Linked DNA regions of Homo sapiens: all the other regions are linked to region 1. The links are contacts of gene promoters, found by promoter capture Hi-C in blood cells and fetal thymus (Javierre and others, 2016). All regions are on one chromosome and are shown on one strand. The core of a region is centred on a gene start or on the middle of the fragment in contact, and the rest is flanking DNA. Distances in the headings are between cores, read along the strand shown.

Evidence for each region. Contacts are between HindIII fragments. The CHiCAGO score rates a contact against its expected background, and 5 or more counts as called.
Region 2: a contact is called between a fragment that was not itself captured here and the fragment with the promoter of RAB9B in region 1, in 1 of 17 cell types (naive CD8 T cells). The highest score is 5.8, in naive CD8 T cells.
Region 3: a fragment that was not itself captured here is called in contact with the fragment with the promoter of RAB9B in region 1 in 3 of 17 cell types (fetal thymus, naive B cells and total B cells); the score reaches 6.2 in fetal thymus.
Region 4: a fragment that was not itself captured here is called in contact with the fragment with the promoter of RAB9B in region 1 in 1 of 17 cell types (naive CD4 T cells); the score reaches 7.0 in naive CD4 T cells.
Region 5: a fragment that was not itself captured here is called in contact with the fragment with the promoter of RAB9B in region 1 in 7 of 17 cell types (fetal thymus, naive B cells, total B cells and 4 more); the score reaches 11.7 in fetal thymus.
Region 6: the fragment with the promoter of RAB40A here is called in contact with the fragment with the promoter of RAB9B in region 1 in 17 of 17 cell types (naive CD4 T cells, total CD4 T cells, total B cells and 14 more); the score reaches 22.7 in naive CD4 T cells.
Region 7: a contact is called between a fragment that was not itself captured here and the fragment with the promoter of RAB9B in region 1, in 15 of 17 cell types (activated CD4 T cells, total B cells, naive CD4 T cells and 12 more). The highest score is 21.5, in activated CD4 T cells.

What each region holds. Positions count from the first base shown.
Region 1 is chrX:103,830,550-103,834,283 of GRCh38, forward strand. It overlaps RAB9B (RAB9B, member RAS oncogene family), which reads right to left and starts at 1,708. Exons shown (of 3, transcript NM_016370.4): 1 at 1,511-1,708. The HindIII fragment of the contact is 1,396 bases long and covers 1,081-2,476 here.
Region 2 is chrX:103,469,464-103,473,197 of GRCh38, forward strand. The region is part of intron 4 of LL0XNC01-250H12.3 (a long non-coding RNA gene); the gene reads left to right. Among named protein-coding and RNA genes, the nearest start is that of RAB40A, 48 kb to the right of the region's middle. The HindIII fragment of the contact is 170 bases long and covers 1,890-2,059 here.
Region 3 is chrX:104,193,204-104,196,937 of GRCh38, forward strand. FAM199X (family with sequence similarity 199, X-linked) reads left to right here. Exons shown (of 6, transcript NM_207318.4): 6 at 1-2,699. Among named protein-coding and RNA genes, the nearest start is that of FAM199X, 29 kb to the left of the region's middle. The HindIII fragment of the contact is 1,633 bases long and covers 988-2,620 here.
Region 4 is chrX:103,486,809-103,490,542 of GRCh38, forward strand. The region is part of intron 5 of LL0XNC01-250H12.3 (a long non-coding RNA gene); the gene reads left to right. Among named protein-coding and RNA genes, the nearest start is that of RAB40A, 31 kb to the right of the region's middle. The HindIII fragment of the contact is 5,359 bases long and covers 1-3,734 here.
Region 5 is chrX:104,166,499-104,170,232 of GRCh38, forward strand. FAM199X (family with sequence similarity 199, X-linked) reads left to right here. Exons shown (of 6, transcript NM_207318.4): 1 at 1-484. The coding sequence starts at 288. Among named protein-coding and RNA genes, the nearest start is that of FAM199X, 1.9 kb to the left of the region's middle. RefSeq lists a silencer at 1-232 and an enhancer at 1-297. The HindIII fragment of the contact is 1,720 bases long and covers 1,123-2,842 here.
Region 6 is chrX:103,517,738-103,521,471 of GRCh38, forward strand. It overlaps RAB40A (RAB40A, member RAS oncogene family), which reads right to left and starts at 1,752. Exons shown (of 3, transcript NM_080879.3): 1 at 1,633-1,752. LL0XNC01-250H12.3 (a long non-coding RNA gene) reads left to right here. Exons shown (of 6, transcript NR_188440.1): 6 at 1-206. The HindIII fragment of the contact is 4,467 bases long and covers 827-3,734 here.
Region 7 is chrX:103,549,854-103,553,587 of GRCh38, forward strand. All of the region lies in intron 1 of LINC02589 (long intergenic non-protein coding RNA 2589), which reads right to left. Among named protein-coding and RNA genes, the nearest start is that of LINC02589, 3.2 kb to the right of the region's middle. The HindIII fragment of the contact is 205 bases long and covers 2,006-2,210 here.

The sequences.
Region 1 (3,734 bases), core at 458-2,957:
TCCCCTTTCCTACCCCCACAAACTCATTAATGAGCATGCTCTAAGGATAGTTTACTAACTTTTTTTTTTCCCATCAGGGTCTCAGTCTTGGAGAGTAAGGTGAATTAGGAATTTCCATAACCAATACTCCCCAGCTCTTTGTTCTTTAACACACTTGAAACCTTCTGAATCTGCAGTACCCACAAAGCCTTATTCAAATTATTGTATTTAGTTGGGAATGCTTAGAGGTGGGAGTGGAGGTGGGGGAGGAGGCAGTACAATGAAGAAAAAGAAGTTGAACCTTTGAAAATAGTACATTTTAGTATGATGATGGAGAGAAGAGAGGCAGAAAAGCAAATTCGCATCAGTTCAGTTGCCATGGAGTGGAATGATGCTCAAAATCAGTAGTGCAGATTGCTCGGAGGCAAGTCTTGAAAGGGATGTGTACTGCAGGGATCGATAGGGGAAGAGCAACTGGGGAGGGCTAGGCACTGGATGAGAGTGGCACTGTTGGAAGTCTGTACAGGGGAGGAGCCATGGTTGGACCTGTGGGGAAAGCCCATCTTGTGGCGACACACTGGTAAGGGCTACTCAACTCACTGTTGAATGCTGGCACAATAATTGGAAATATTGCACTGAAGAATTGGGCGCGGCTATATTTATGTAAAATTCAACACGGATGAGAAATGATTGAATGTTTGAGTGTGTTTCCAATACAACCCAATACTTGGCGTTGGTGCTGGTGGTGGGTGCTTCGTAGCGCGGAAACCCTCTGACGCACTGGATTCATTTTGCAGAGCTAACAAGTTATCAGCTACATCCATGCCGACTCCAAATGCCACAGCTGTCATGCCACTGAAACGCTATTCCTACATTCATGCCCACATTTATATCCTATATGCAACTCAAAGGGTCCAATGTGGAGTCCCACATCTAACCTTTCACTGCTCACAACGACAGCTCTAGGGCTATAAGCCCAAAGGCACACTAGATAGCAATCTGGCATCGTCCCCAGGACACTTCTTCCTCAGTAGACTGCCCAGGGACAGATAGGTAGATAAGGTTTGGATGACATCAAGCGAGCTGAACACAAGGAAAAAAAGCTTCCTTGGGAGACAAGAATGCTGGCATCTCTACGACAGGGGCACTGTTAGCATTACGGACCTAGAAAGTGAGATGTCACACATAGTCCCAACTACCTCCGACCCAGGTCCTCTCACCTCACCCCCAGCTCTTAGAGCTAGTCGGCTGTGGCGCATGCGCACTGAGCCACACCCGCTCCCCACGGAGCCCTGCGCCTCTCTGCTCGGCTCTGGCAGCAGCTCGGGATTACTCAGCAACGCCCCCCTGCACTGTCACCTGCCCCCGACTCCGACCTCGGGAGCGGCTCAGTCCCTTTTCTCAAGCTACGAGTGGTCCTGGGGATCAACTAGACTTTCCTTTCTCCCTCTTCTCACAGGCCCCCCACCTCCCGGCCTTCCGGGTCCTCCAGCCCCTAGCCCCTGTTCCTGCCCACGCACAGGCACCTTACCCAACACAATGGGAAGGAAACAGGAGAGGGCCGCGGGTGCCAGGCAGGTCAGCTCTGCGTGCCGGGAATCCGGCTCCTTAGAGTCACCGTCACTGCTCCTGCTGCCTCCTCGTCCTCAATGGGGCAGCAAGTGCGGCTTGGACCTCGGTGGCCTGACAGCTGCCGCTCGCGCCCGCCGCTGCCGCCGCGCAGCGTCTCGAGCCCGCGCCCGCGCCCGCCAGGGGAGGGGGCGGGGCCCGCGCCGCCTCCTCGTGCCCCTTTCTCGGCGGTGGGGACCCGGTGTAGCCGCCTCCCGCCCTCCATGTGGCAAGCGCTCCCTGGCTCGCCCACTCTTCTTTCATGCTCATCGTCCAACCCTGGTCTCCCTTGTCCTCCTTCTCCTCCCCTAGCCGATTAGTAGGCACAGCGGCAATAGACCGTCAAATATTGCTCTTCCACTTAGCTCCTCTGCAGCCTGGGCCTAAGCCCTCAAGCAGGGCTAGCCACTGCCCCACTTCCTGCAATTATCCTCTGATCTACCTCATTTATCCTAGCTCAAAATCCTTTAATTTTGCCAAGAGGGTAGTACATACACCCTCTTGTTTCAAATAACTCAGGAAAACACATGATCACAACACATTGCTAGGCCCTCTAACTGGCTACAGCTTATGAAATTTTCAGGCAATTAAAAAAAATGTCCACATCTGTAGCGCAGGCATAGAGGACACACTGCCCTTTACTCTTACCAGATACAGTTCTAGAGGGCCACACAGGGGGCATTACTTGAATTTCCCGGAATTGCTGCTGGGGCAGAATTTGATGTTTTAATTGTGCCTAGCCGACCAGCTAGTCTCTTTTTGTTGTTTTCTGTAGCCCTCTGGTACTTCCAACTAGTTTGTGATTTTCCCCCTGGAATTGAAGAAGGACAAAGCTCCTGAGGTCATTTAGCCTGCACTCCACCTCTCTGTCAGGCAGCTCCATCTCTGAAGCTTCCCCATTGCCCGAAACCCTGTGACCTTGTGGCACAGGCCCTCACTCATCTCATGACCCCGTCCAGGCCCTCACACATACCCGCTACTTCCATCTAGGCCACTCTTCCTCTGTCTCTTGACAAGGCAATCGTGCAATCAATCTCCGCAGGCCCCAGCTTAAATGTCACTTCTCAGGATAACCTTTCTCGATAATCTCAGAATAGAGATGGTGCCCCAGTTTATACTCTTGTAGCCTCCTGTAACTTGCTGTATTTTTCCTTCATAACACTTACCCATTTTTGGTGGTACATTTAAGTGTATGATTATTTGGTTGACAGCTGTCTTCCCTACTAAACTATAGTGGGGAAGGACTATGAGGTCAAGGACAACGTTTGTGTTCACCACCGTATGCACAGAGCCTAGGGCAATGCTTGCTGCATAGGACATGCTCAGAAAATATTTGCTGAATATGAATGAATGCTGTATCACTAATAGTTGTTATATTTAAATAAAATAAATTGATGTAACTGAATCTCATGTGCTCCTATTTAAACCAACCCCGTTCCCCACACATACACTCTAAAACACTCTTCTGATGAAGACGAGATTCACACAATCCTCTAAATCAAATTTTCCGCATACATTTTAGTCTATTAAAAAACTATTGAGCATGGGCCCCAACATATGTATAAGGATTTATAGATTATATACATGTACTACTGTACATGTATACATTACACATTACTTTAAACATACATTTTAATGAGTAAACATTAAAATACTCCACAGAAATTTTAAAAGAATGAGAAAAATAAATATATTGATGTTCCAATGTTTTCTTTTTGCACCTCAATAAATAGTTTTGTGAAATGCTTTAAATAACAGTCCTTCATATTAGAGTAACTCGTCTTTAGGTGTAACAATCTAGACTACTTTTTCATTTTCTCATAGATGCCATTTTCCAACAGTTTAAAAATCTCTGAGAAACCCCCAAACCAACTGGCAAGTTTTAAGGATCTTTTAGTTTCTAAGCTACCTCGTTCTGTAGTCAGGATCTCACAACTGCTGAAAGCACCACACGTTTAGTGAATGTTGGAACACCTAAAGGTAAGAAAAATCCTTTGTTAGACCAAAGATTCCTACATGTAAATCCTATATTAAAAGAGTCTCTAGAGGCCACTTAAAAAGCAGCTACTATTATCTTTCTAGAATGGAAGCAACATGACTAACACTAGTTGTGAGGGATCAGCAAAAATGGACAGCACGAAGATTCA
Region 2 (3,734 bases), core at 725-3,224, 360 kb before region 1:
GGCAATATCTTTTAAATAGTCTGTGCATCCCCACTCTGTATGTATTTGGAGCCTGTCCCTTCAAGTATTCATCCTCAGTGTGACAACTGCCCCTCTATTAGAGGATGCATATTCCTCATGATGTAGGTTGTCTGGGAACTCTACTTTCTAAAGCACTGACCCAGACACATTCCCTTGTCTTTGCAGAGCAGGATATTGATGTACAACAAGATTCTCTGATCAGAAAGAGAGGCAGAACTAGCAGCCTGGCTTCAGAGGTGAAGATACAGATGTCAGTAGTGACCCAGGTCAGCAGGAAAGCAAGATTTACTTGGTTATCATGTGATATGCAGCTCAGCATCATACAGTCTGCATGGGGCCTTACGGGGTGCTGGTCTCTACTTTTCTACTTATTGTAGAATGCTCCTCTGTTGAGGACCAGCCTCAACACCACCCGTAGGGTACCCAAAGTCCGGTGGCGATGAAGGAATGAGAAGAGACAGGTTAAGAGTGCATAAAGAGTGGGGGCCAGGGGACCAATTGCAAAATGGAGGCTGCAAAAGGCGCCAAGCTCTGGTCTCCACACTATTTGTTGAGTACAATCACTTAGATCTAAGAAGCAGGCGTTCAGGGCGAAACGGTGAAAGGGAGGCAGGTGTAATCTATAGCAAATGAATCTCCTTTGTGCTCAAACAGCGTATCTTTAACTTATGGGAGAGTAGCTAGTGGGAGCGGGCTTAACTAGGAGCCTGCACATCTGGCCATATTCCAGTGCTTCAAAGGAGTGTCTTTCTCCTTGAACACAGTGTTTATAGATAAGAGAGCAAGTCTCGCTCAGAGCATGGGAACATAATGGCGATAAGAAGACTTTCCTCCTCAGAGGCCTCTTGTGGCTTTCCACAACTTATTGTCCCATATTTTTATGGCCAGTTTATACAGGTACCCCATAAGCCTTTCTCCCAACACTCCCCAGCCAGACTACTTAACCTACAAACATTATTGCTTCTCTAGCTATAAAATCACATAGAGGTTATTACCTCTACCTCCTGATAATGTTGTGGAAATACATGAAATAAAAATGCACCAGCATTCAAGAAAGGTGAGTCCCCGTGACTCTCTTAGGTCAGGCATCCTGGCCTTCTATGGGATTTTTAAGCTCTCATCACCCATATGGCTCTGCAGCTTGCCTTTTTTCAGAAAAACAGCATCTATCCAGGTTTTTATTTGCATTTCATTAGTGAATGTGTTTTTAAATGTTTCTTGGGCATGTATATTGCTGTTTACATGAATTCTCTGTTTATATCTGTATTAGCTATCTTGCATAACCAATTACCTCCAAATTTTGCTACTTAAAGCAACAAACATATTAATACACATCATTTCTGTGGGTTAGGAATCATGGCACAGTTTAGGTTCTGGCTCAGAGTCTCTCACAAGGCTGCAATCAAGGTCTAGGTAGGGACTACAGCCATCTCAAGGCTCAACGGAGGGAGGATCCAATTCCAAGCTCATTTATATGGCTGTTAGCAGGCCTCAGGGCCTCAATAGTTCTTGGGCAGAGACATCGATTGTCACATGGATAGCTCATATCATGGCAACTGGCTCTCCTTAGCGCATCTATAAGAATGCACAACACAGCTTTTTGTCACTTGATCTCAGAAGTGACATCCCATCCCTTCTCACATATTTTAATTTTTAGTAGCAAGTCACTAACTCTAGCCCACACTATGGGACAGATTATACAGGGAGTGAATACACAAGGAAAATGGGGATCATAGGGGACAATTTTAGAGGGTGCCTACCATAACATCATCAGACCTTCTTTCCATATTGGCTACTGGGAATGCTTTATATATCATGAGAATTAGCTCCATATAATTTGTACATATTTACTCTAACCTACTGAGACAAGCTTTAATGATTTATTTTGTCATATACAGTGTTTTAAAATTTTCAATATTATAATTTAATATACAGATCATTATATAAATAAATTAAGCAATGACCAGGGCAGCATTGATTGTTATTGTCCAGGGAGATTAGAGCATTCAGATTCCTGGAGGCTTCAGAACACATGAAAAGCTTTAGTGAAATTCCAGACTCCACTCCTGAGGAGACAATAACCAAAGCAGTTTCTCTGGTTTACACAACCTCTCTTAATTTCCTATAACTTGATCTAAACTATGCATTTAATAATAGGTTACTTGAATAAATGTTAAGATTAAAGGAGATACAACTTAGAGTACATCTTCTTTATAATTAGTTTTGTCAACATTAGTTTCCTACCCTCCAGATCTTTGTCCCAGAGGAAGCACCTATTATTCTGAATAAGCCTGTCTGCCATCTTAAATGCCAGTCAATTCACATGATCCACATACCAAGGTCTCTTGGCCCCAAGCAGAGGATTTCACTTCCACCATCATCAACCTCATCATCATCACCAAAGGGGTTGTTGAGTGAACAGGCATGGGGATTGTACAATGACCAGTCCCTAACCCTTGGTGGGGCATCATATACAGAAGAGGTTGTTGGGTGCTATACTTTGAATGTCCCCTCCAATTGAAATATAACAGCCATTGTAACAGTATTAAGAAGAGGTGACTTTAAGCAGTGATTAGCCCATAAGGGATCCACCCTTATGAGTGGATTAATGCTGTTATTGTGGGAGTGGGCTAGTTATCATGAGAGTGGGCTCCTAAACTACTGAATGAGTTCAGTCCTACTTCCTCTTTCTGTCTCATGTGCTCACTTGCCCTTCTGCCAAGTTATGATGTAGCATGAAGGCCCTTGCCAGATGCTGGAGCCATGCTTTTGGACTTCCCAGTCTCCAGAACTGTGAGAAATAAATTTTATTTATTTATAAATTACCCAGTCAGTACTATTCTGTTATAACAGCAGAAAATGGACTAACAGAAAATTGGTACCGAGACATGGGCTGTGGCTATAACAAATACCTGAAAATGTGGAAGCAGCTTTGGAGCTAGGTAGTGATGGGTAGAGACTGGAAGAATTTGAATGAACAGGCTAGAAAAAGCCTAGACTGCCATAAATGGAGCTATAATGGCAATTCTGGTGAGGACTCAGAAGAGCAGAGCTGTAGGAAAAGTCTGAATCTTCTTAGATAGTATTTAAGCCTTAAAGTACTTCAAGGGATGGTGACCAGAATGTTGGTAGAAATATGGACAGTAAAGGCCATTCTGATAAAGTCTCAGACAGAAATGATGAACAGCCTGGGCACAGTGGCTGATGCCTGTAATCCCAGCACTTTGGGAGGCTGAGGCGGCTGGATCACCTGAGGTCAGGAGTTCGAGACCAGCCTGGCCAACATGGTGAAACCCTGTGTCTACTAAAAATAAAAAACAATTAGCCAGGCATGGTGGCAGGTGCCTGTAATCCCAGCTACTTAGAAGGCTGAGGCAGGAGAATCGCTTGAACCCAGGAGGCAGAGGTTGCAGTGAGCCAGGATCGCGCCATTGCACTCCAGCCTGGGCAACAAACTGCATTAAAAAAAGAAAGAAAGAAAAGAAATGAGGAACAATGTAGGAAACTGGTGTAAAGGCCATCCTGTTATAAAGTAGCAAAGACCTTGGCTGAATTTTGTCCATGTTCTAGGGCTTTATGGAATGCAGAACTTAAGAGTGATGAAGTAGGGTATCTGGTGGAAGAAATCTCTAAGCATCAAAGTATTCAGGCTGCCACACAGCTACTTTTAACCACATACAGTGAGATGTGAGAAGAAATAAGTGACTTAAAGT
Region 3 (3,734 bases), core at 554-3,053, 360 kb after region 1:
TCGAACCAATCAATGCTAATAGAGTATAAAAACAAAAACCTTCAAATTTTAAGTTTCATTTGTGTAACTTTATTTTCGGCCTAGCTAGATCATTGAAGAGCCTTGAAAGTTATCTAAAGTATGGCTTAATGTATTTTTTTCCCTCTGAAAAAGATCATATGCCAGGATACTTCTTCAAACCAGATCACTTTTAATATCTAGAAAGATAATTTTCAAGGTATAGGCAAAAGCACTTCAAGGACAGAGATTATGTAGCAAGTTGATTCTCTAGGAATTCTTTGAACTCATTTGTGTAATAGCTGGAACACACTCCTCTTCTTTCCTTTAACAAATGAACTTTTAGCACTTCTGTCTTCAAGGAAAAACATTTGTTTGGAATTGAAGGGTACTCGCAGTCCGTTTATAGTTTGGGACAATTAATAGGAAAATCCCCAGTTGCATTCAAATAATAGTGTTGATGTTGAGGGCACTGACTCATTCAGCATGTCTGAACTAGAAGTAAATTTAATTCTGAAAGGACTGTTAGTTAGGAAATAAGTATTTGTATACATATGTACTGTGGTAACTTTGGATTCATTTTAAGTCTGATAAAGTAAGATAAACTTTGTCTTAAAAATAAAATTATGCTAAGTGAATAAAAACTGAGATATTTTAAGCTAGGCATCTTTGTTAGCATAGTATCCGGAACATAACTACTTATAATGCTTAGGTCTTATTTCTTTGGAAAATAAGTTACTTATTCCAGAAGCCTTAGAAGGAATTCTGAAAATTCTTCTAACTGGCCATTAAGAGTAAGGAAGTTGAATGGTACTGCTGAAGATCTGAGTTGACTCACTGAAATTTTATTTTCTTATTTTTTTAACATTAAAATTATTTCTTTTTGGCTCTCCCTCTAGTTATTTTTTAAATTAAGGTAATTACTGTTTTAACCTAGAGCATATAATGGCAAATTAAATTTTAATTTGACACTCATACCGAACTCAGAAAAGCTTGTTTGATCTTCTCTAAATTCTGTATGTAGTACTTTTTTTAATTGTCACATTTCTTTGTTACATCTTTGTGTCCAACAAAACCTGTGGAAATCTGTGTTCATTTTTGTGGTGAGGGATGGGGGTGAAAAAGGGGAGACTTGCTCTAATTATGCATATACATTTGACTATGTAAAGGTAGTTGTAGACTATATGTATAAATAACAAGTTAACACTTAATATTCTAAATTGTTCTAAGGAACAGTGGCCTGAAGCCATGACTAGTTTTGTGGAGCTGCTGGCTCTTTTAACAGTAGCTGACCTATTGGATTTAAACTGAGACTGAAATTGACATTTGTGGTTAGGTTATCTAGCTGAGGCTTTTAACAATGGAGCAGATAATGTCTGTTCCTGTAGTGGATCCATTTAATTTCCTATTTGAGTACTCTCACTTAACAAGTATTATCTATTCTGAACCTTTGTGTTGGGAATTTAAGGACTATTGTCAAAGGCTATTAATGGTAAACAAGTATATGCAAAACAATTCACATATGGGTAAAAATTTCAAATTGTGGGTTTTTGTTTTTGCTTTTTAGTTTCAAAGATTAGTTATGTAGCAGCAATATCATAACCAAAGCAAGTAGGAAGTTGACTGGTTTGGAGAATCTTCAAGTAGTTTTAAATACTGTAATGTATCAGATTGTTAACCAGGATTTTTTTTTCCTGTATTACTGCTAAATATATTACTATATTAATGCACTTTTGTATATATAACTGTCTTCTGTACATTCTGTACTTACTACAGTGTATATAAAGCCTGTTTTCCCTGAAGCTGTGAGGGAATAACAATAGTTGTATCATAAGTCGTTTCTATTTTGAGTTCCTTCTTGTACTTGAAAGTAGTTCAGTAGTGAAATCTAAATGAGTGTGTATGGTTGTAATTAAAACTGGCAATGTGGCAGAGCTGTCTTTTGAAACTGAATACCAGAATGAAAAGTGTTGTTTTGGTTAAGAACTCTTATAATATATTATTTCTTTTGATGTACCCTGAGTTGTTACACAGCCCACTCACTGCTGCTTACTACTTTATACTTCTGAGTCAGCTCCTTTCATGCTCTATCCCAGAATATTTACCAACAGAGGAGAACTGCTCCCTTTTCTGTTTCTCACAGTTTGGTTATGGCTTTATAAACTTTTATTTGGTGAAAGCCCCAGATACCCAAATGTCATTGGCAAAACTTATTTTTTTTTCTGGACAGATCAGATTTCTAGAGAGAGCAGATTTCTAGAGAGATTAGCATTCATAGTAAGTGAAAATTGTCTAATTTTTTTAATCCATGCTATTACTGGGCAGTAGGTCTAATTTTTTTTGACAAAAAATAGATCTATTTTCCTTATATATTGATTTAGAATCTTAAGTTAGAATTTTATAGAAGAAATGTCTGAGCAGTTCTATGTATGGAGGAGCAATTCAGCTTTTCAGCAGCAACTTTATCTTTTGCCACTAGAGGGAGATCTGTGGTTGCTTTCTCCTTTGGAGAATAGCTGCTTTGCTTTTATTTTTAATTTCTAAGGTTGGAATAGAACTTATTCTCAAAATTCCTTTAGTGTTATTAAATATTTTCATTTATTAGTCAAAGGTAAGTTAATTAAGCTTGTTTAATGATGCCAATCTTATGCTTTTCTGTAATCTTCAATTTTTAATAAATGTGAGTTAGATACTAAGTGAAATGTGCGTGTGTGTGTTTCTTCTCTTAGGTACTCTAGAGCTCCATATGTGGCTAGTGACTACCATAATGGGCAGTGCATAATGTACTATCCATTATGGTAGTCACTAGCCACATATGTCTATTTAAATGAATTAAAGTTAAGTAAAATTTAAAATGTAGTTCTTTAGTCTCCTTAGCAATTCTTCAAGTATCCAGTAGCTACCATGTGGCTACAGGCTATTTACTGTATTGAAAAGCATGAGATGTAGAACATTTCCATCATCACAGAAAGTTCTGTTGGACAGTGCTGCTCTAGAGATTTGCTGGTTTATGTAGTGATCATTATCATCATTTTATCAGTGAACAGTAATTAGTGGCTAAAAAACTGCTGCCCACAGTTAACTGTTGTAGGTGATTGGTGTGAGAGGGAGATTAAACTTTTTCTTTTTTTTGAGACAGGGCCTCGCTCTGTCACTCAGGCTGGTATGCAGTGGTGTGATCATAACCCACAACAGCTTTAACCTCCCAGGCTCAAGCGGTCCTCCCACCTCAGCCTCCGAAGTAGCTAGGACCACGGGCACATGTCACCACACTCAGCTAATTTTTCAATTTTTTGTAGAGATAAGGTCTCTACAAAAAATGTTTTTTGTCTAGGCTGGTCTCGAACTCCTGGGCTCAAGCAATCCTCCTGCTTTGGCCTCCCAAAGTTCTGGGATTATAGGTGTGAGCCACTGTACCCAGCCTGTATTTCATTTTCTGCTTCATTAAAGCCACTACCAAATTTGAGAACTTGGTGGTTTAGTGGAGAAATTTATCATAGTGACCATTTCATTTGACTATGAATAAGATTTAATGTTTGAATAATGTGAGAAGTTTGGGCCAGTTTCACAGATTTTATAGTTGCAGAGTGCTGCCATGCAGCTTTCTCTGTGAGTTAGTCCTTCGATGCAAAAAAAAAAAAAAAAGCAATTATAAATGACAGTGCTGTGACACAGAACTGAATACATTTTAGAAGACTCCAGTTGTTTAAAACTATGCTTACAAATAAGTAGAAACG
Region 4 (3,734 bases), core at 834-3,333, 340 kb before region 1:
GCCTTAGCCGTGAGGCTCAGCCAACCCCCACTTCTATGTCTCAGCATTTAAAGGGCAATTGAAGTCCCACTCCATGCTATATACTCTCAAGAGGTTTTCTCATTTACCCTTCAGAACAGCTCTGTAAAGATGGTATGGTCAGTCCCATTTCACAGATGACTAAGCTCAGGCTCACAGAGCCTAAGTCACCCCTCCAGGTAAGTGGCAGGGTTGGAATGAGGTTCTATTCCTCACCCTCCCTAGAGAACCCTGAGCAGCTTCCGTTTTAGAAGATGGGTTTCCAGGGCTTGAGAAATGGTCAGATTCCCCCCTGATATTGTGGCCCCACAGGTCCTCACTCCACAACCCCTCTGGGTGATGAGGAAGACAGAAGAGGTGAAATCCTGCGCTTTGTGCCATGAGATCTGGGTGTAGGGCCACAGGAGTTAGCTAATCCTTGAAGTGGTGAGTGGGCTCAGGCAGAAGCTCAAGTGTTGGCCTTGGGACAGGTGAGCTGGAGAGAAGGAAAGTAACATGCACTGAACCACTGTAAGCAAATGCAATTTACAGCTCATCTCCTTTAATCCTAACAACCATTTAAGATACTCATCATTCTGACCATTATTCAGATCAGTGTGCTGTCTTTAGGGGAGTTTATGTAAGTCAGGGAAACAACCTAGTTGTCCTGTGATCATCAGCTAACTCTGGAATACTCCAAAGTTGTATCATTTTCTCTTGATGTCTCCAGGGCTCTGAATGTTCTAATCTCCCTGCAGGCTGATAGCGCCTGCTCCTCATGGTGTTATTCAACATTTTTTCTTTTTAAATTATGACCTGTATATTTTTGTCACATTATTGACATTTAAAACACTTTCTCAGTAAAAATAAGGCTAAACATTTTTTAACTTAAGGGAGAAAACATTTGCAAACTACATCTCAGATACTGGGTTAGTATCCATGATTTGTGAACCACATTCTGTAACAAAATGACTGGCAGCTGTTTTCAACAGACATTCTCATTAAAATGTACATGAACAATAAACATGTTAAAATATGTCAAAACTGGAAGTACTAATAAGATGCAAATATAAATCTTCAAGAGAATATTATGTGGAAGAAAAAAGTTGCAAAAAAAATTAGTACTGTGATTCACTTTTGGAACAGATTGTGTGTTTGCGTGCACCTCACCTACAGGGACACATCTGGAGAGTATGCACCATTCTGTTGACAACAGACCCTTTTGGGTCAGAGGGTAGGCTTCAGGCCAGTGAGATATGCAGATTCATTTCAATTTATAAATATACTTTTATACATTGTTTGAAATTTTGTATTTAGGGAAAAAAGCATTTCAATAAATACTTTTGAATAGATTGGCAACAGTAATTGTAATGTATTTCATTAATTCGAAAGTACATTCATTGTATTCAATTTTGTATTGAGACAAAGTAGATAAAAATGGAATTGATAATGTCTATGTGTGTGAGTGTGTGTGTGTGTGTGTGTGTGTATCTTCTCTTGCTCTATCACCCAAATAAACATACGTGCAGCTTTACCTTTAATTCAGACAGGGGATGGAACCAATATCAGTTTTAGATATCCCAGAAAATAGTGGATACAGAGAGACAGCTACCATGAGCTGAATAATTCCGGAAGACTCCAGCTGATACCTTCTGGGAGCCAAATTCCCAAACTCCATCCCTCTTTCCCTCTTACCGAGGCCCTTGGCTGACAGAGATGCAATCCTGTCTCTGGGCACCAGATGGCATCGATCTCTTTATTTTTTTTTTTTTAATAAAAAGGAGTATATTTTGTAGAGTAACGAAGGACTTAAAATGGTTTGTTTACCATGATCATAATTCTGTGTGCAAAATTCATATATTTTATTTATTTATATAAATATATTTATGAATTTATACAAACTATATGAATTTTATTTATTTATATACTATATATTATATATCATATATACAATATATTATATTGTATATATAATATATCATATATTGTGTATATATCATATATTGTGTATATAGTATATATTATATATAATATATTATATATTGTATATATAATATATTGTGTGTATGTAATGTGTATTATATATTATATTATATATATTATATATGTTATATATTGTATATATTATATATCATATGTAATATATTACATATATATCGTGTATATATTATATATTGCATATATAATATATGTTATATATAATATGTTATATATAATGTATGTATGTGATATATTACATATTGTATGTATGTGATATATATTGTATGTATGTGGTGTATTATATATTGTATGTAATATATTATATTGTATGTATGTGATATATTATATATTGTGTATATATGATATATATTATATATTGTATATATATATATAATATATATTTTAAAGCAGTTGCATTATGGTGCTCCAAGAATCTCATCGCATTCACTGATTTATCTTTTCCTTCCTCAGGGTAGGTTGAGGTGTCCACACTGTAGAGGGGTCCCTCCCTCCCAGAGAGCAGGCAGTTTGCCCTCCGTTACCCCACTCCTGTACAGGCTTCCCAGACCTTCTCCACCCACTTTCAGTCATCCCCTCTCTGGGACACTGTGGACACAGCCACCCAGACTCAGTTCCACCTCCCTCATCATTTCTTAGTCACCTTACGCCTGCCCCTGTGCTGTCCTATGCCAGCCGGTGGCTCCCAATGTGTGCTAGAGCTACCTGGTGTTTCATAGTATGGATGCCCCCAGAGTATATTTATTTAGTGTTCTTTTGCATCTGTCAGTTTTTTCAGACAGAAAATTTTGAAAATAGGTTCACAAGCTGTGTTTTAAGGGAGGTATGGTATTTCTTTTTTTTTTTTTTAATTTTTTTTTTATTAAAGTTTTAGGGTACATGTGCACAATGTGCAGGTTAGTTACATATGTATACATGTGCCATGCTGGTGCGCTGCACCCACTAACTCGTCATCTAGCATTAGGTATATCTCCCAATGCTATCCCTCCCCCCTCCCCCCACCCCACAACAGTCCCCAGAGTGTGATATTCCCCTTCCTGTGTCCATGTGATCTCACTGTTCAATTCCCACCTTTTTGCTCATTGTATATATTGCTTTGCAGTCTGATAATGGTGATATGTTAGTGCCCCCTCGTGACAGAAGCCTAAACTGCAGCTTGAACATCCGGGAGCAGGAAAGTGGGAGGAAGGGGTTGTGGCCCAAGCCCACCCCACAGAGCTTTCTATAAGTCTGGGTGGAACAGAAGTATATCCAGTGTTCAGGGATACTGATGGCCAAACAGAAAGTCCAGCCTCTTACTATGCTAAATAGAAAGCTATATTTGAGAGGAATAAAAAAAATCATTTTTATTTTTATGCTTTCAGACCTATGGATATATAGCAATAGACCTATACAAGCAAAAATAGATACAGAACTACTTCTGACTTTTGTGGGGTTTTTCTCGTCACCCAGGCTGGAGTGCAGTGGTGCAATCACAGCTCACTGCAACCTCTGCCTCCCAGGCTTGAGCGATCCTCCAGCCACAGCCTCCCAAGTAGCTGGGACTACAGGTGTGAGCCACCACCCCTAACGAATTTTTTTTTTTTTTTTTTGAGACGGAGTCTCACTGTCTCCCAGGCTGGAGTGCAGTGGCGCCATCTCGGTTCACTGCAAGCTCGGTCCCCCGGGTTCACGCCATTCTCCTGCCTCAGCCTCCGGAGTAGCTGGGACTACAGGCGCCTACCACCACGCCCGGCTAA
Region 5 (3,734 bases), core at 733-3,232, 340 kb after region 1:
GGGCGGCGGCGCTGCGCTGACGGGCTGAGTCTGGCGGCGGCGGAAGCTGCAGAGGCCACCGGGGCGCTAACTGGGTGGCCGGTGGGCCGCTGTGGCCTCGAGCAGCCTCTTCGCGCGGCCCCGCACCCCGGCAAGCAGCAGCGGGCCGCGACGCCCAGCCTGCCAGTGAGCTGCGACGGGCACACCCCGGAGCGTCGGCGACTGCGGACAGGTTAGAGTGGGGGCAGGGGCGGGCGCGGGAGCAGCCCAGGGCCAGAGAGGGAGCCCGAGCCAGGCCATCTCCAACCATGTCCGACGAGGCCTCGGCCATCACTTCCTACGAGAAGTTTCTAACCCCCGAGGAGCCCTTCCCACTCCTGGGACCTCCTCGCGGGGTGGGCACCTGCCCGAGCGAGGAGCCGGGCTGCCTGGACATCAGCGACTTCGGCTGCCAGCTGTCCTCCTGCCATCGCACCGACCCGCTCCACCGCTTCCACACCAACAGGTACGAACTGCACCTGAGGGCAGGGGTGGATTTTCCACTTCTGGTCGCCCCCCGCTCCTGATCCTTCGTCCCGGGCTGCGCTTCCAGTCGCCCCCTCCCCCACCTGCTTTCGACCAGCGCTCATTCCCGGCCTCCTTCCCTGCCCCCCCTCCCTATTTTCACCCCTGCCCTCCTATTTTCCTTTCGACCGGCGTTTTACTCTCTTTTCCTCATTCATATTCTGGCTATAGCGACTCCTCCCTTCCCTACCTTCTCCCTCCCTTGCTTCCCTTCCCTCCCCCCATCTGTACCCTACGAATCCCAAACCCCCACCCTTGATTTTTAGATACGCCCCTGTTTGCATCCATCTGCAAAAGTTTAACCCCTTCCATTTCCGGTACGCTGTAGAGGAATTTGGATGGCTCAAGATCAATCCATAGATCTTTTGAAAAGTGGCGTTGAAAGGTGGAACATTTAAAGCTAGAAGCTTCATTTTCCCTATTTTTAATCTGTCTCACAGTCCTGTTCCCCCCGCCGCCACCACCCCTACCCCATTTTTTTTTTTAGTTGAGCGCTAGGAAACTAGTCGATTCTCTCTTTTTTTCCTCCTCCTTTATTAACTGTTTGCCTTAGCGCTTTAGGCTCTGCCAAAATTGGTAAGCTTAAATCTGGAGGATTCCTTCATATGACATATCCCTTGGTTTCCTTCCCCTTTGAAGAGACAGAGTAAGGCTTAGGATGGACTGACTTACACAAATTTATTCAGAGGGTGTATCTCCTCCTAACTGATTTCAGTAGAAGGTAGTGTTCTGGAGACTTCTCTCATGCAAGCATTTACGTGTTAGATCAAATCTTGGGGGGTGGGTTGAAGACGTTCTAGATACAGCCTCAAGTTTTAACATAGGTGGATATTTGAGATACATATACAAAGGGCTGGGGGGGTGTGTGGTTAAGGCTCTAGGAGAGGGGTTCAGCTATGGAAAATACTGGAGATAAATTAAGAAATCTAGTTCTGACTTCTGATCCAAGTTTATGATGTGAGTTTGATCAAATTCTTCCATATTTTAATGTCTTTAGCATATTTCTCCCCTCCCTTCCCTTAAATCAGTCTGTAGATTGAATGAGCTTCTACCAGATACAAGGAATGTGTAAAAGATGTTTCTTACATAAATGAAAGTTATAGTCTATGGAAACAAGGTGTTATAGTTAAATAATCAGAATATCAGTATAACACATCTCAAAAGGAAGTGGCAGTAAATTTATTATGACTACTCTAAATCGTCATTGCAAAAAATGAAGAAACAGGCCCAGAAAGAAAAGATTGAGTTCAAGGTCATAAAACCTAGTCAAGCAAATCCAAGACTATTCCTTTGAAGCCAATGATTAAACTTGGAGCAGAACTAATTGATCCAGTGTTACAAATAGAACTTATGGTTTCCTAGACCAACTCACAGAAGCCTATTTAACCCCTGATGTCACTGTAATGTGAATGTAACATATTCATGAAATCAAGTGTGCTTAGGGTTATTTATGTTGAAAAATAATGTAAAAGAATACCTTTGTACATATTTGGCATTTAAGTTTTGCAGCCTTGGAGCAAGTCACATACCCAGGAAAGTTAAATAATTTCAGAATGATCCTGCTGTGATGATGAGGGCAAGGGAGTGAGGGCAGAGGCTGTGGGTAAGTACTGCCAAAACTGGGTAGAGGTGATGGGGAGTGAAGTTATGAGAATAATATGTTTCTTACAACTTGTTCTGTTCCTTCCTCCTCCCCGTTTTTTCCTGTGTTTTCTTTCCCTTAAAGACTGTGGTGAGGTCAGGACTGTTTTTCAATGGGGCAGTGAGGAGGGGAGAAGGAGGTTCTTTGCAAGCCCCAGTTTTTCCAAGTCAAGCATTTTTCCTAGTTACTGCTTGCTTTTTTTTTTTTTTTTTTTAACTTCCCTCTCCTACCCTACTTTTCGCAAGGCTTGGCATGGTGGCAGGGGTTCTAATGCTCTGTATCCTTTTCAGCAGAGAGTAGGGGAAGCAAAATTAGCGATATTCACAGCACATGATGTTTCTGTCCTAGGCTACCTTGCCTTTTAAATGTATTATCCTTCTGCAATGTTCTGCTTTCTTACCCCTCCTCAAGATGGTGCTTGAGAGGACCATAGGCTTCCAGCCATTTCTTTTCAGGGAGAAGCACACAGCTAAATCATATATCGGGCAAAGTTTAGGGAGTTCTTTTATTTTGGAGTTGTATGTGTCACTTTTTTCCTTCACATCACATCATTTGTCAATTCAGGCAACAACCCAAAAATCAGATTTCAAATAGTTGAGTGCTGAAATTCTGCCTTGGGTTTAGTGATTGTAAAACAAATTTTCATTGGAAGTAGGAAGCTTGTTAATTGGTAGATATTTGACTTAACCTTAATTTTGCTTCCTTCTTGGTACCTGATAAGAAAAATGTGGAGATTTTAAAAATAATGCACTTGATAAGGACCTTATGATTATGACAATTTTGTGCCTACTCATTTACTGGATTCTGGGCTATATTTGCAATTTTCATTAACAAAGACAGTCACAGCACTAACAGTCCCTGAGGTTGAATGGTTGCAATATTCAGATTTTTTTTTTTCTTTAAAGACAGAGTCCTGCTCTGTCATCCAGGCTAGAGTGCAGTTGCACAATCTTGGCTTAGGGCAACCTCCGCCTCCTGGGTTCGAGCGATTCTCCTGCCTCAGCCTTCTGAGTAGCTGGGACTATAGGCGTGTACCACTATGCCTGGCTAATTTTTATATTTTTAGTAGAGACAGGGTTTCACCATGTTGGCCAGGCTGATCTTGAACTCCAGACCTCAGGTGGTCCACCCACGTTGGCCTCCCAAAGTGCTGGGATTACAGGTGTGAGCCACCGCGCCCGGCCCAGTATTCAAATTAAAGTCATTTGTGATGTAGGTTGGTATGTCACTGGTCTAGGTTCAGTAGAAAATACATTACATGGACACAGCCAGTTTCCTAAGCATTCATACCTTAAGACCTACATGGATTGGTCTAGAATTTTAGGAAAATAGAATAAATTTCAATAAGCCAAAAAAGTGAATGAATTTTTTAAAAATGTGAAATGTCAGTGTGGAACATATGTAGTGTTTAAGACATTTTCTTTGGTTTTGGGGGCAGTGATTTTCTGATGTAAATGGAGGTTTTCTCTTAGCACTTCCAAACTATTGCATAAATCTTTTACTCAGTTATGTGATTTTAGAGCTCCGTTTTCAATCACCATTAACCAGA
Region 6 (3,734 bases), core at 502-3,001, 310 kb before region 1:
TCATTCTTGGCAGAACAAATTGTAACAGCAGAAGACTGGAAATAAGACAGATGTCCACCAATAAAGGACTGACTGAATAATCTAAGGTGCATCTACATCCTAGATTTCAATGCCGGTATAACAAGCAAGGAAGATTCCCTCTCTCTGCTGCTATGTAGTGATTTCCAGGATATACCATTAAGTGAATAAAGCAAAGTGCAGAAAAATGTGTAGAGCTGCTGTTGTCCCATACCATACCCACTGGCCACTCATGGCTATTTAAGTTAACTAAATTTAAATGGAATTTTAAATTCACTTCCTCAGTCACACTCACCACATTTTAGGTGTTTAATAGTCACAGGTAGCTAGTGGCTACTATGTTGGACAGTTGAGACATAGAATATTTTCACCTTTGTAGAAATTCTATTGGACTCCACCAGTGTAGAATATGTCACCTTATATATATGGAATAGGAGAAAACTAATAGAAACATTCTATTTGCTTATATTTTTAAAATTGGAAAGTTTTAATGAAAATTGATTTAAAAAATCATTACCTATAAAGAGAAGGAAAAACAGCCCAGGACAGAAGCCAATAATGTCTTTTCCCTTAAAAATATAATATATATACACTGGCTCCATGCACTAGAAAGGTGAAGAAACATGATAGACCCAGTAGCAATGAGCAACTCTAGTGCCCATATTGAATCCACTTAAAACACATCACACTGAAAGGAACTAGGTTATCTTAGAGAAATGACTGAGTTTAGGTCTGTGTAGCCATTCTACTAGATGAATCTGGACCAAACTATCATGCCAGAGAGTGCGTCAAAAAGACTCAGAAGCCAAGCTTAAGGGGCTCTCGCTGGACAAAGATGAAGCAATTTGAACATTAAATAAAATAATGACTACTATGGATTAAAACACATTATAATATAAAAACTTCTACAGCTCATGATGACACTCTAAAAGAAAAATAAAATAAAACAAACAATATCAACTCATTGCTTGCCTTTGGAGAACCCTAGGGAAACAACTCATTGTTTTGAAAAGTGGAAATATTGCAAAAGAATTAGGCACTCATCCAACCCTTTCTATACATACTATCCCTCAGTGTAACCTAATGGTTTATGAAAGTTTATTTAATAGAATAATTCCAGCTAATAAAGCAGAGAAAATTATAGAATTAGAATATCATCCTTTTATGACCTTTAATGAATATAGAACTAAGCAACAATCCTTAGACGCTGCAGAAAAATCGAGGTGAAAAAGGGATGGGAAATTTTATAATGGATGGATCAGCTTAACAATACTTGAACATAGTAATTAATCTTAACATCACAAGAGGAGAGACAATTAGACACAATGAGCCCCCTGTGTAACACTATAGGAATAAACAATACCACATATGAAGTACTTCTGACCAAAACAAATCTAAATTGAATCAAGCCTCTGAATCTAACACCATTTTGTTAAATTTTTTTATTATACTTTTAAGTTCTGGGATACATGTGGAGAATGTACAGGTTTGTTACATAGGTATACACGTGCCATGGTGGTTTGCTGCACCCATCAACCCGTCATCTACATTAGTTATTTCTCCTAATGGTAATATAAAAAGAGAAAGAAATACTTGGAATTTGATTTGGAAAACCTTTCTCCTGTAGCCAGTCCACCTCCATGTGCTTGATACAGTTGACACTTCTTACCCTACAGGAGATTATTCAGCCTATCAGCCAATCTAGAAAATAAAATCATGAGGATCCATGTTTGGTGGTATAGGAACTATTAAGTTTATATTGGAACATTTTGCAAAACATGTTAAAATTAAGTTAAAATGAATGTGGCTCGAAATTAGGATTGTAAGATTTCGGATTTCAACTCAGTTTCCACAGAGAAGTTTGGTTGACCTAAATTTTAAATATGTTAGGAATAAGCCCCTGCTGCACATCATTATATTCAAAGTTCTCTGTAGCTTCATTTGTGAAAACAAATGGATGAATGGGTATATATTTGTAAAACATGTCTTTGGGATAAAAAGGCATTTTGAGTTCTTGGTTTTCAGGATGTTCCTTCTGGTATTCTTCAAATAAATGCTTCTATAGTATTATAAAGATAATTTCATTAACCTGCTAAAATGGGAATGTATTTGTCTATAGCTACAAGGTAAAAAGTGTTATGAATAATAATTTTAAGATGACAGATATTAAATAGTTCAAATATTATTGATAATAAGATTTTTTTAAAAAAGAAAATATATGTTCATCCAAAAGAATGAACATGAACATTCATAACACCATTATTCATGAGATGTCAAAAACTGGAAAATACACAAATCTCCATCACAGATAAATATAGTGTGAAATATCCAAATAATATAATACTTTACACCAATGAGAATAAGCAATCTACAATATAGACCACAATAAATATTAATTTCACATACATTATGTTGACTGAAAGAAGCAAGACACAAAAGAGCACATGCTGTATGATTCCAAGAATTTCTCTTCTAACCTCCCAATAGAGATTGGGGCAGGAGAGGAATATCAACAACTCATTTCCTTTTATTTCAAGGTACTTAGTGTCTTTTTATGTTATCTGTAGCTTAACCTCAGATAAGTGAAGCAACTTTCTTCTGAGCCCTTGAAAAGTGATTAATTACACATAAGATGAAAAGCTAATACTATATCTGATGGACAGGCAATGTGGTGTGAGAGATTCGGGCAAGAATCCTAAATGGATGCTCAGTCTGCACCAAATCACACCGCAGTCACTGAGTCACCATGGTAACCATTCTGGCCAAGGAAAGCTGAGAAAAAACAAACACCACTATCCCGAGCTTGTTCCTAATATGTACTAGGAACTAAATAGGATTGACATGATGCACAGTAATTAACCTCAAGTAGTCCTTACAATAAAAATTCCTGACAGCTTCAGTGACATACAAATGTATACATACTCACATACATATATGCTTGCTCACCCTCTCACCACTCCAAATTCCAAGAATTTATTGAGGTTGATTTACTGGTGGGTAAAGAAGTAAATCTCGCCAGGCATGGTGGCTCGTGGCTATAATCCCAGCTACTCAGATGGCTGAGGTAGGAGGATTGCTTGAGGTTAGGAGTGTGAGAGAAGTCTAAACAACATAGCAAAACTCTGTCTCTGAAAAATGTTTTTAAGTTTAGCTGAGCATGGGGGCACACACCTGTAGTCAGTTATTCAGGAGGCTGAGGTGAGAGGATTGCTTGAGCCTGGGAGTTCAAGGCTGCAGTGAGCTATGATTGCACCATTGCACTCCAGCCTGAGCCACACATTGCAACAAAATCATTTCTGACCACACATATAAAGTTGAAAGCTACTAAACTATGTTCTTTTGGTGTGATTTCTGAAGATGACCTGTAGAATTGTCTCTGGAACATTTTCCTCCATAGTTTCAATATATCGCCAATGACTTGTAAAAGCAGATACGGAAATACAGGTAAACACAGGTTAAGGATCAAATACCTTTTCCATCCTAGAGTAAGCTGTGCTTTCAACCAAAAAAATGCCTCACTGATGTTAAACACTTGGTTGCTGATAGTACTGTGAAAATATAGTAATTAGCAATTGTGTTTAACAAACAAAGCCATGTATAGCATCATCAAGAGTATGAAATATTTATGAACAATCTGTCCACAGATGTGCAGTGCCTGTACACTGAACACCACACATCATTGCTGAGAGAATTAAAGACCTAAATAAGTGGAGGAC
Region 7 (3,734 bases), core at 858-3,357, 280 kb before region 1:
CAGTGAGCCAAGATCGCGCCATTGCACTCCAGCCTGGGCGACAAGAGCGAAACTCTGTCTCAAAAAAAAAAAAAAAAAAAAAAACCATATATATCTAACAGTCAAATGTCAATTAATAAATCTAAACAAAGTGACAGAATTATAAAAGCAACCCTGACAACTATCACAGTAGTAAATGATTCAAGCAAGAATCGTAAATAGATTTTCATTCTGCACCAAATCCCATAGCAATCACTGAGTCACCATGGTAACCATGCTGGCCAGGGAAAGCTGGGAGGAAAAAACAAAACAAAACAAAAAACCAACCACCTCCTCGATCTTATTCCTAACATGTGCTAAGAACTGAATAGGACTGACATGATGCACAGTAATTAACCTCAATTTTTTCTCACAATAAACATTCCCGGCAGCTTCAGCAATATACACCTTCATACATACCTAGATACCCACATACATACATGCTCTCTCCCTCTTTTTCTCATCACCCAAGTATCCAAGAATTCATCAAGGTAGATTTGTTTGGGAGTATAAAAAGAAAACTCCACAATTAAAATCTACCCACACACAAAGTCAAGAGCTACAAAACTATTTTATTTTAGTAATTCATTTTTCTGGAGATGATCTTTAGAAAAATGTCTCAGTGACATTTTCTCCCTGGTTTCAGTATATTACCAATGACTTATAAAAGCTGATAGTGGAAACACTGGCAAATGTATGCTGTGATGACTAATTTTATGTGTCAACTTGGCTGGGTCATAATGCCCAGATATTTGGTCAAACGTTATTTTGGATGTTTCTGTGAGGGTGTTTTTGGATGAAATTTACATTTAAATTGGCAGACTAAGTAAAGCAGATTGCCCTCCCCAGTGTGGGTGGGCCTCATCCAGTCAGCTGGAGTCCTAAATAGAATAAAAAGCTGATATCCTCCAAAGAAGAGGGAATTCTGCCAGCTCACTCTTCAGATTTCATCTGTAATATTGGCTCTTCCTGGTTTATCAGTACACCGCCTTTGGACTTTAACTTCAACTCTTTCCTGAGTCTGAAGCCTGCTGGACTCCCCCATCAAATTTTGGACTCACCAAGCGTCCAAAATCACATACACCAGTTCCTTAAAATAAATATCTTTATATGTATATATATAAAGATACATATATAAAGATATATGGATATATAGATATCTTATTGGTTCTATTTCTCTGGAGAACCTTGACTAATACAGACATTAAGTATTAAGCATCTTTTCTATCCTAGAGTAGCCTGTGCTTTCAACCAAAAAGGTTCCCCAGCAGCTAGTATTAAACACTCAGCTTCTGACAATTCAGTAAAAATATAATACATTGAAATTGCAATTGAAAATACTACCATTAGGCCAGGCATGGTGGCTCATGCCTATAATACCGGCACTTTGGGAGGCCAAGGTGGGAGGATTGCTTGGGACCAGGAGTTTGGGACCCACCTGGACAACAAAGCAAGACCCTACCTCTATTAAAAAAATTTTTTTTAATTTTTTAATTAGCCAGGCATGGTGGCATGCACTTGTGGTCCCACCTGCTCGGTAGGCTGAGATGGGTGGATCACTTGAGCCCAGAAGCCCAAAGCTATAGTGAGCTGTGATCATACCACTGCACTCTAGCCTAAAAAAAGAAATACTGCCATTTATAATAGCATCAAAAAGTGTAAAATACCTGAGGATAATCTGTCCACATGTGTGCAAGGCCTGTACATTGAACACCACAAAACATTGAGGAGAGAAGTTAAAGAAGACCTAAATAAATGGAGAGAAATGCCATCATCATGAGTCAGAACACTCAGTATTGTTAAGATATCTACTCTCCTCAAACTGATGTATAGATTCTATGCAACTCCAATAGAAATGTTAGCATATATTTTTAAGAAGAAATCAATAAACTTATTCCAGAAATCATGTGGAAATGCAAATGACCCTAAACTATGAAAAACAACATTGTAAAAGAACAAAGTTGGAGGAAAAACACTACCTAATTTAAGCTTCATTATAAACTTACATTAACCAAAACAGTGCACTATTGCCTTCAAGGAAGAAATGTATATCAAAGGAACAAAGTATAGAGTCCAGAAATAGACCCACAAATATAAGGACAACTGATTTTTGACAACAATGCAAAGACAATTCAGTGCAGAAAGATCATCCTTTCAACAACTTGTGCTGGAACAGGTAGATAACAAAAATAAGCTTTTATCTATACACCACATCATAAAAAACTCAAAGTGGATCATAAAAGAAGATTTAAATTTAAAAGCTAGAACTATAAATTTTCAAGAAGAAAACACAAGAGAAAATTGTTGCAGTCTTGGCTTCAGAGAAGATTTCTTAGATATGACACAAACAGCAACATCCAAAGCATAACAAATTTGGAACTATTCATATATACAACAATATGGATAAATCTAAAAATAATTAGGTCAAATATGTAAAATAACATGAAATTTCAGGATTCCCAAATTCATCATGCCAAGGGAAAAGTTAAGCCTGGGAAATGAATTGTGCAACATTACCAACCTTTGTCCCCAGATAACTGTAATTTCACAACCCTGTGTCATAGCGTAATACATAATCCAGATTCCCACAACAGTAAAAGGCATTATACCTTCCCAGATGACCTTCCTCAAATATTGCTCACAAGGAAATTCCTTGCTAGCCCCTAAATCTTTCAGGATACATATCCCCCTATAAAACCAGCACATGCCAATTGTAACCTTAAGTCTGCAACCTAAGTTTAACTCCTAAAACTGAGTTTTGTTAAATCTTACACTGACAGTGTCAGTTACAAGCTTATCTTTCCAGAACAAAGACAAGATCAATCACTCTTCCACCTACCCTGAAACGAATACATAATTGACTCTTTCCTCTCTCTTTTCAAATCTTATCTTATGTAAAACTCAGATTTACTGACCGCTAATTAGAGCCTCACAAGAATGTAACCATTTGCCTCACTGCCTACCCTCTCTCCCTTTTTCCCTCTTGCTTGCTCTCTGCCCTTAAATACTGAGTTCCCAAACCCCTCTTTGTAAAGCACAAGTCAGAGATGCTCCTGTGACTTGCAGTTTTCCCAGGCATGTCCTCAAACTTTGGCTCAATAAACCTCTAGTGATTGAGACACTTGCCTCAGTCACTTTTTTTGGGGTTAACAAATGAATTAGGTCAGACAAAGGAGAATAAGCATCCTATGATTCCATTTACTTAAAAGGGCAAGAAACAAAAACTAATCTATGGTAAGAGGAGACCAGTGATTGTCCGGGAATGGGACAGGTTGGCATGGAGAGGGAAGCTAGAGACAGATGGAGAGGATTACAAAGGTGCATAAGGAAGCTTTTTGAGGTGATGAATATGTTCATTATCTTGACTATAATATTGGATTCACCAGAGAGAGCATACATATGTTAAAACTTATTAAACTATATATTTTAAACATGTACGGTATATCGTATGTCAACATGGCTCAAAGAAAGTATTTGAAATACATTTGTATAAGTTTTTGATGCAATTAAATCATCCAAAAGATTCCAACTACTACACTCTTGTTATATTACCAGATCATTACTATGTCTGATCAAATTGTTCTGCACTACATACAACCATAATAATCACTTGCAGTGTTTAAATATTTTTGGAAAAGTGGATGTTCATTTCTTTTTGAAGTACAAAAATAAAAATATTACATTCTAAGAAAATAATGATGATGATACTTAAGAGT